2 separate regions of the Homo sapiens genome follow, and region 2 is linked to region 1. Evidence: promoter capture Hi-C in human tissues and cell types (Jung and others, 2019). All regions are on one chromosome and are shown on one strand. Each heading gives the region's core, a stretch centred on a gene start or on the middle of the fragment in contact. The rest is flanking DNA. Distances are from core to core; before and after follow the strand shown. Region 1 holds the start of GSC2 (goosecoid homeobox 2). Region 2 has its middle 10 kb from the start of LINC00895.

Region 1 (4,630 bases), core at 901-3,400:
GGTTCACAGTAGCCTAGAGGCCAGGGCTGGACCCCAGGGGTCCAAGGCCACCATCCGTGGAGCAGTCCCCTCTGCTGGGGAGCACCCTGGTGCAGAGACTGAGGATCGCTGAGCTGTGCTCCTCTCAAAGACAGCTGTACCCTAAATACCCCCTCGCTGGGAAGGAAGAAGAAGGGACAGCTCCTTGTTGGGTGTGGGAGTGGAGCCAAGGTGGACTTGAGACTCTGGGCGGCTTCTGTGGTATTTGAAGTTGCTAGTTTCTCAGTATCAGCGCGAGGCTCGAAGGTGAAGGGACTGTGGAGGGGCTCCTGGAATCGCTCCTGCGACCTTCTTATTCTACAGGTCCAGATACCAAGACCCAGCCCAGGGCCTGGGAAGCCTGCAACGCCAGGACTGCACAGACACGAACCCCATCCCCTCTCCCGCTGGGGGAGGACGAGCCAGGTCAAGTTAGGTCAATGTCCACATTGAGAAGAGGGTGGCCAGCATGTCCCAGGGTGCGGAGAGACGCTCCACTGCGTAGGATTCTGGGTCCCGTGTTGATACGGGGTGGTTCCCCTCCTGCGGTGGAGTTAGTGTCTCTCGGGGGGTAGGGAGCTGAGGAAACTGCTCTATGCCCCAGCCCACCCCCAAGGGACTCGCCACTCCCACTGCCGTGGAACACCAAGCACCGGGGGCCCGTCCCCAGCGCCACGGCAGCACGAGCTGCAGGAGGCAAGGGCTGTGGAGACGGGTGGAGGCGGCCGGTGTACTCTCCCAGCTCCTTTTCGGGTAGACCTGTCTTCTCTCAGCGCCAACTCCAAAGATCCCAAAAAGGGTGGCCGAGCCCAGGGGCAGCTCCTAGAGTCATCAGCAGCTCCCCTTCGGGGACTTCTTGACGCCGGGCAGGAGCCTCGCGGAAGCCGACGCGCGCTTCTGGTGTCGCCATTTGGCCCGGCGGTTCTTGAACCAGACCTGGGGATGGGGGGAATGCTCAGCCCTAGCCCCAGGTCCTGCGTCCCACCGGCTCCCGAGGGTCCCACAGGGACCGAGAGGGGAGCTTCGCAACAGGGATGTGGGCGGACGGCGCTGTAGAGCCGACACCCGGGCCGCGGCTGCGCGCCACCTGCCCTTATTCGCTGCGGACAGACTCGGTGGGTCTGGACGCGAGATGGGAACCCCCTTAGTACCCGCCCCAGCCTCCAGCTGGCGGCGACCAGGACGCCCCTTCTTGGGTTGCGGGCTCTTCTGAATTTCCCAAATTCTGGACGTGAACGCGGGCCTCTTTCGTCACCAGAGGAAAGTGTAAAACAAAAGAAAAGAAAAGTAGCCCTCCGGTTCCTTTCCCGCGGCACCTCCCTGCTCTCACCCGCTCCTCATACCCCCGGACGCCCAGCGCCGTCCAGGGACCTCCTCCCTCCGGCGCGCCAGGGCGGGGCTTGGGCCGAGGCCGTCTTTGCAAAGGGCGCCCGCCCGCCAGGACCCCAGTCCAGTGTAGCCGCGGCCCGCGCGCTCCGGGGAAAGGCTGGGCGGGGCACTCACCTCCACGCGCTCCTCGCGAAGGCGGATGCGGCCGGCCAGGCGCTCGCGCGTACTCACGTCAGGATACTGGTTCTGCACGAAAAGCGCCTCGAGCGCCTGCAGCTGCTCTTCGCTGAAGATGGTGCGGTGGCGCCTCGTGCGCCGCTGCGAACCCGGGCCGACCGCGCCCGGGAGCGCCCCGGAACCTCCGGCTGGCGCACCCAGAGACAAGGGCACCGCCGGTCCCAGCCTCAGCGGCCACGCCAGACGAGCGCCTGCGGAGCGAGGGCGCGGTGAGGCGCGGGGCTGGGGCCAAGCTCGGCACCCACTGCGCCGCGCCCCGGGCTCCGCCGGGCCCCGCGCCCCGCTCCGCGCCCACTCACCCAGCCCGGCGGCCGCCTCTGGGGGCCCGCAGGGCGCCGCGCGGGGGCCGCAGCAGCAGCAGCAGGCGCAGGGCGCAGCCTCGGGCGCCCCGGGCTCCTCTGGCTTCGCGGGGCTCTGGCGACCGGCGGGCTGCGGTGGGCAGGCGGCCCGGGCCGGGAGGCTCCGCTCGGGCAGGCTGGAGAGGATGTGCTCGATGGAGAAGGGGCAGGGCCGCCCGGCACCCCGGCGGCTCGCCGCGCCCCCAGCCGCTGCCGCCATGCCCGGCCCGGCCGGGGCGCCGCCGCCGCGGGAATATATACGTCGGGGAGGGAGCGCGCAGTAATCCCCGGGCCGGGCGTCCAGTCCACGCGGGTTAATCCCGCAGCGCCGGCCGCGAACGCGCTAATCCTCGACTGCGGCGGCCCTGCCTCCGCGCGCGGGGGCCGGGGGCGCTGCAGAGAGGGCCCCCTGTGCCCCCCACCCCGCCCCGCGTCCTCCTGCCCCACCCGCGCCCGCCGCTCAAGCTGGCAGGGCGACCTGCGGGGAAGGGGCGGAGGGCCGCCTCGCCGCCGCCCGCGGGGCCTGGCAGCCGCTCGGAGGGCGCCCCGACCCTGGCAGCTCCCCAGAGCGCGGCGGTGCCTCCCGGCCCAGCCTCTGGTGGCTCCCCCTCGTTCGGCTGGGCCTAATTCCTCGTCCCCTCTGGGGCCCTACTGCGGCGGCTCAGCACGCCTGCAGAAGCTCGGCCTAGCCGCCCACCCGAAACTCCTGGACCGCAGCCTCCATGGGGCCCAGCACCACCGGCAACCGCACGATCCCGCCGCGCTCGGGTCCCGAACCTGCCCGCCACCTCGGAGCCAGGGTCTCATGGCCCTGGAGGGCGTGAGAGCGCGGCAGGAAGCCTGGGCTGCCGGGTGCCCCCAGTTCTCCGTCTCCTCACCTGTGTCAAGGAGACCTCCCCGCCCCTTCCGAGGCCCCTCCTCGGTGCTTCAGAGCCGCCTGTCCTCCAGCTTTCCCACTGGTCCCAGAATCCCCGCGAAAACATCCAACACTGCACCTCGCCCTTCCCCGCACTGTCACTGCCCCCCAGAAGCTGTGGGCTCCCCCTCCTCGCTCTCCGCCCAGGCCAGTCCTCTGGCCACACCGTCCTCGGTCCCTTCTGCCACAGCGCAGGTGACCCGCACTTGGCTACATTGTTTCACCCTCAGTGAAGCGGCTCCTGGCAGCGGGACCGTCACTTCAGCTTAAGACCCTTTCCTCTTGACCTTTGAAAATACAGTATGGGACTCATAGCACAGAGAAACAGACGGCCTGGCTCATACTCCGTTGTCAATTTCTGGCCGTGTGACCTCCATAGGCGTCTTCAGCCTCTGGGCTTGGCTTTCCCAATCTGTAAAGTGTAGTGACTAGGTGTGAGACGGTTAGAACCTGGCCGCCTCCCCAGGGCAATGCGTATTCCTGCGCTCCTCCCGCCGCCAGCCCCTCTGCAAGACTCTGCCATCCCCACTCTGCTATCAGTGAAAGTGCTGTGGACATCACTGTGACCGAACCTGCTGATTTAATTTCTGTCACAAGAGCTCCCACATAGGTTTCCCAGGGGTAGTCTGGAGGCTCAGTGATGAGCTGCCACCTCCATGAGTGGCTCTGTCAACCCCTCCTCCACCCACCTCTTGGTGGTAGAATGGCTGCCACAGCCCCACACTTTTCATCTCCTCCCATGGCCCTTTGGATGGCCATGGATCCCTCCTCCCTCAGCAGACCTCCCTCACAGAACTGCATCTGGACCATCCTCCAAAATCAGAGTGCTGCTATGATGGGGGAGGCAGGGTCATTGGTCAGGAGAGCCAGCCCAACATTTGCTGAGCCCTCTTCCTCCTAGCCCTGGCCATTCCTTCATCCTTTCCCATTCTCACCCTCAATACCTATTCCAGCCTTGGAGCTCCAGACACCATCTTTGTGACAGTGACTCACAAGTGCACCTCCAGCCTGGCCTCTCTCTCTGCTCCACGCTCTTGTTTCTGGAGCCTGCTCCACATCTCCATCTCCACTACCAATAAAGTTCTCCCAGTCACCATGCCAGAAAGGAACTCAAGGTCTTCTCAAAATCCCTTTCTTACCCTATGTTCTCCACTTTTACAAATGGGCCACTGCCCACCTGTCCATCTCTAGTGCTCATTCTCTTCTACCTATTTGCCTCTGCGTGTGCCCTGCCTCTTTACCAGTCCACCTTGGTAAATGGCCCACTGTGGCACTTTTTCAAAAAGTTTATTTTCTATTTTGCATTATTTTTTGAGACAGGGTCTTGCTCTGTCACCCAGGCTGGAGTGCAGTGGTGTGATCATGGCTCACTGCAGCCTTGGCATCCTGAGCTCAAGTGATCCTCCTGCCTCAGCCTCCCAAGTAGCTGGGACTACAGGTGCACCACCATGCTCAGCTAATGTTTCTGTTTTGGGGGGGTTTTGCCACGTTGCCTAGGCTGGTCTCAAACTGCCGAGCTCAAGCAATCCGCCTGCCTTAGCCTCCCAAAGTGTTGGGATTACAGGCATGAGCCACCGTGCCTGCCTGGCCTGCCCCCCTCCCTTTTTTTTTTTTTTTTTTTTTTTTGAGACGGAGTCTCGCTCTGTCGTCCAGGCTGGAGTGCAGTGGCATGATCTCAGCTCACTGCAAGCTCCACCTCCCGGGTTCACGCCATTCTCCTGCCTCAGCCTCCCGAGTAGCTGGGACTACAGGCGCCTGCCACCATGCCCAGCTATTTTTTTTTTTTGTATTT
Region 2 (4,630 bases), core at 1,257-3,756, 430 kb after region 1:
ATGAGCCAAGGGACCACATGAGGTGGCTCCAGCAGACTGTTGAGCCCCAGCTCGGGTCTTTTTAAAATTAAACAAGCCACACTTAGGTGTGCTTGTTGTAAAGATGTGAAGCCATAGCTACTATATACAGATGCAGACACTTGCAGACACTTTTCTAGACAGCACAGCTACACGTATGTACATATGCATATATATTATTTTCCGTTTTATGTAAATGGGATCATACCATCATCCCAGCAACTCATTTTTTTGAAGGTTTGTTTTCTGATTATAAATGTCATGCAAAGGTATAATGGGAGTCCTCTCCTAAAATCCCATTCTCCAGAGATAACATCATTGTTAACATAGTCCTTAAACGTTTTCTTCTATACCTATATAGTATTTTATTATATGGATGAATCATTATTTATAATTATTCCTCTGTGGAAGAACATTTAGGTGCCTGTAAGTTTTCTTCTGTTAAAATATAGCCCTACAGTGAACATTCTTGAGTGTGTGTATTCACTTGTGTGCATTTGTGAGTAGTTTTGCAGGCTGGGCTCCTCCAAGTGGAATTGCTAGGCTAAAGGGCATGTACCTTTTAGAGGTTTTTGTTTGTTTGTTTGTTTGTTTGTTTTTTGAGATGGAGTCTTGCTGTGTCACCCAAGCTGGAGTGCAGTGGCGCGATCTCAGCTCACTGCAACCTCCGCCTCCCGAGTTCAAACAATTCTCCTGCCTCAGCCTCCCAAGTAGCTGGGATTACAGGCATGCGCCAACAAGCCCAGGTGATTTTGTAGTTTTAGTAGAGACAGGGTTTCACCATGTTGGTCAGGCTGGTCTTGAACTCCTCCTGACCTGTAGTGACCCACCCGCCTTGGCCTCCCAAAATGTTGGGATTACAGGCATGAGCCACCACGCCTGCCCAACCTTTTAGAGTTTTAACAGATGTTGCTCCGTGGCCTGAGAATGCCTGTTTCCCCACACTTTCTCCAGCACTAGATTTAACCTAATCTGTTGGGTGAAAAAGGTTGTCTTATTGATGCCTTAATTTACATTCTATCCATGACTTGCAACTTTAAGCATCTTTTAAAATGTTTATTGGTTACAGGCAATCTTCATGAGAACATTGTATCCTCTGTCTGTTTTTCTTTTGGGTTTCCTTTATTTTTCCTTAATGGAGTTGAAACAGTTCTTTGCAGGATCTGGCAGTTGATTGACAGCTTCTTAATTCTAAGAATGCCCCCAACTTAAAAGCAGCCCTGGAGGGTCCCCTTCTTCCGTGTCACCCCCAGTGTCTTGTGTGAGTTGTCACCGGGCCCCACTTGTTTTCCTCTGAAGCATTCTGACAGCTCTGCTCGTGGCCCCTGCGTTTAAGAGACATGCTGGGCCGGGCGCAGTGGCTCACGCCTGTAATCCCAGCACTCTGGGAGGCCGAGATGGGTGGATCACGAGGTCAGGAGATCGAGACCATCCTGCCTAGCATGGTGAAACCCCATCTCTACTAAAAATACAAAAAATTGGCCGGGCATGGTGGCAGGCGCCTGTAGTCCCAGCTCGGGAGGCTGAGGCAGGAGAATGGTGTGAACCTGGGAGATGGAGGTTGCAGTGAGCCGAGACTGCGCCACTGCACTCCAGCCTGGGTGACAGAGAGAGACTCCGTCTCAAAAAAAAAAAAAAAGAGACATGCTGCAGGCCAGGCATGGTGGCTCATGCCTGTAGTCCCAACACTTTGGGAGGCCAAGGCGGGCGGATCACTTGAAGTCGGGAGTTTGAGACCACCCTGGCAAACATGGGGAAACCCCGTCCCTACCAAAAATACAAAACAGCTGGGCGTGGTGCCTGTAATCCCAGTTAACTCGGTAGGCTGAGGCAGGAGAATTGCTTGAACGCAAGAGGTGGAGGTTGCAGTGAGTCAAGATCATGTCACTGCACTCCAGCCTGGACAAGAGTGAGATTCTGTCTCAAAAAAAAAAAAAAAAAGAGAGAGAGAGAGAAACATGCTGCTGCAGAGCACCCCTGCAGTGTTCCCGAGGTGTGAGGTGACAGAGCCCTAGTCTCTGATTCTGTGACAGCTTCAGAGGGTGACACTCTGTGTCGGGCCCAAAAGGGCTCCCCTGGGCTGTCAGTGATGAGCTTCTCTGGTCACCTTTGGGGGGTGCCGTAACCTCACCTCTGTTCAGTTTCTCAGATGGCCAGTCAGGGAAAAGAGTGGCCATCAACATATCATGAAAATGTTCTATTTGAAAATGCAGAGTACAGTTCCTGGGGACACGGGGATCTCCCAGTGCTCGGTGCTTCAAGACCCTGGGCAGTTCATATTAGACAATGTCACAGGAAGGTGTGAGTCATTCTGGGCGGTTGCTAGTGTGCCGTGCCTGTGGGCTTGGTGCTGGGGAGGCCAGGCAGGCTTGGTGGTGGGGAGGCCAGGCGTGGGAGTGATGCTCCTGACTATGCCTTCTCTCCCAGTCACTCCTTTCTGGGTTTTGTTAGGGGAGGGGGTGTCTAGGGCCCAGGCCATCACCAGAAGCTTGGCCCCCTGCTCTTGCTTCTGCCAAACACTCCACAGTTCAGCTGGAAGCGCCCTCAGGGTTGTCCAAGCTGCCTGCAGTTGGTTGTGCCTCCGACTGGCTCTGGCCCCGCCTCCCAGCCTCCGTAGCTGGTTCCTGAGCCCTACTCCTGGGGCCGCCAGCCTCTCCTACTTCCCTCCTCTCTCTCTGCTTGCTTTGCAGCAGCTTTACTGAGATATGATTCACATACCCTACAATTCACCCCTCGGAAGAAGAGTTCTTAGTAGAGTTTTCCATCATTTTTAGTCTGTTCACAGAGTTGTGTAACCATCACCATCCAGTTTAGAATATTTGCATGGCCCCAAAAGAAGCCCAGTACTCATGAATCAGTCACTCCCATTTCCCCCTCACCTACCTCCTCTCTCAGCCTCTCCCAGCCTCTCACAACCACCAGTCTACTTTCTGTCCCTATGGATTTGCCCTTTCTGGACATTTCATGTAAGTGGAATCAGATGGTATGTGGCCACTTGTGTTTAGAGTGGTGAGCAGAGCCCAGGCTGCGGCAGACATCCAGACCAAGGCGGTCTGGGCCAGGTGACAGCCTGGCTAGGGTTTGGCGAGGTCAGTTCCTCCTGCCTCCGTGGGGCCCATGAGCCGCAGTCCCCAGGGATGCATCCGGAGGGCATCAGAGGCAGGACGCCGAGCAAGCTGATACCCAAGGAGTCACAGCCACCCTGGGAGCTTAAAGGGCCGATGCAGGGATTGGGAGGCCGTGGTCTGGGTCAGTTGGGAACTGGGGGTGATCAGGGATGGCCACTCATAGAACCTCTGGATCCTGTAATCTAGAGAGACACGGAACATGAGCTCCCCTGTTGGTGTCTCTCCTGAACCCATTCCCTCAATATAGACACGCTTCTCCTTTGATGTTGTAGACAGTCTGAGATATATTCTACTAATTTTACCAGTTAGGCTTTCCGTGAATTGATGCCTTGTTAAAGTTCTCTAGAGGGTTTTGACATTCATTTTCATTCATTCACATCTTAGGGTGAATTATTTTAATCTAGGTACTTTCTTCCTAACAGAAGAATCAAGTTAATGAAACTGGAAGTCCCTAGTCTCCTTAGATTTCATAATTGGCCTCACAATGTCACAAGAACCCTGATCCTGGCACTCGTCCTATCAGGTGCTGTGCAAGGGAAGCGCTGTGAGTGACAGAGCAAAGCCAGGCATCTTTCAGTCAAGGATTTTCTCTCCAGTTGTGTGCAAGATAAGAAGTGACTGACTCTGTGTAGCCAGGAGGCTGAGGCAGGAGGATGGCTTGAGGCCAGCGGTTTGGGACCAGCCTAGGCAACATAGTAAGACTCGGTCTCTACAAAAAATTTAAAAAATATCCGGGTGTGGTGGTGCGTGCCTGGGGTCCCAGCTGCTGGGAATGCTGAAGCAGGAGGGGATTGCTTGAGCCCAGGAGTTCGAGGCTGCAGTGAGCCATGATTGCACCACTGCACTCCAATCTGTGTGACAGATGAGACCCTGTCTCTTAAAAAAAAAAAAAAACCAAAACCAAAAACAAAAAACCACCTCTCTAGATTATGTTGCTCCTCTGCTCCACACCATGCTGTGGCTTCTGTTCACAGTCAAAGGTCCCAAAGTGGCCATGGCCTGTGCTGCCTGCTGCCGCTCTCCACACCCTGGCCGCTCGGTCCCCAGGAGACCAGGCATGCTCCTGCCACAGGGCCTTTGCACTGGGTGCTCTCTGGGTCTGGAACAGGCCCCACACCCACTCACTTCCCCCAAGTCTGCTCAGATGCCACTTCCACACTTCCTAACAAAAGGAAGCTGTTGGTGAGCAGATGCTCAGTAACTTATGTGTGGCCAGAAGGAGCGAGTGGCTCCAGCCTGCGCGTGGAAAGCTGGCTCTCCTGGGTCACTGCTCTCACTGAGCCTCGGGTTTCTGCTGCCCAGAGGACTGCGTGGCTCTTTCTTGTACCTGGCAGTTCTGACACTGCTGGAATTGGGAAGAAAAGGGACCCTGAGACTAGGTCACTCCCTCCTGGGGTCTCAAGGGGCCCTGTCCCTGGGGCTGGAGGCTGAGCTTCCTCCTCCTTGTCCCCACCCTGGGGATGGCCTGTGTTCTGTCTTCCTTG

What was found. The method cuts DNA at HindIII sites, captures the fragments that hold promoters and counts their contacts. A contact is called where the count stands out against the background at its distance.
Region 2: a contact is called between a fragment that was not itself captured here and the fragment with the promoter of GSC2 in region 1, in 1 of the 25 tissues and cell types used here (lymphoblastoid cells).

The regions. Positions count from the first base shown.
Region 1 is chr22:19,148,142-19,152,771 of GRCh38, forward strand. GSC2 (goosecoid homeobox 2) reads right to left here and starts at 2,151. Exons shown (of 3, transcript NM_005315.2): 1 at 1,884-2,151; 2 at 1,522-1,775; 3 at 1-954. The coding sequence starts at 2,142. The coding sequence ends at 850. RefSeq lists an enhancer at 1,103-1,602. The HindIII fragment of the contact is 19,488 bases long and covers 1-4,630 here.
Region 2 is chr22:19,574,632-19,579,261 of GRCh38, forward strand. No RefSeq gene overlaps it. Among named protein-coding and RNA genes, the nearest start is that of LINC00895, 10 kb to the left of the region's middle. The HindIII fragment of the contact is 6,571 bases long and covers 1-4,630 here.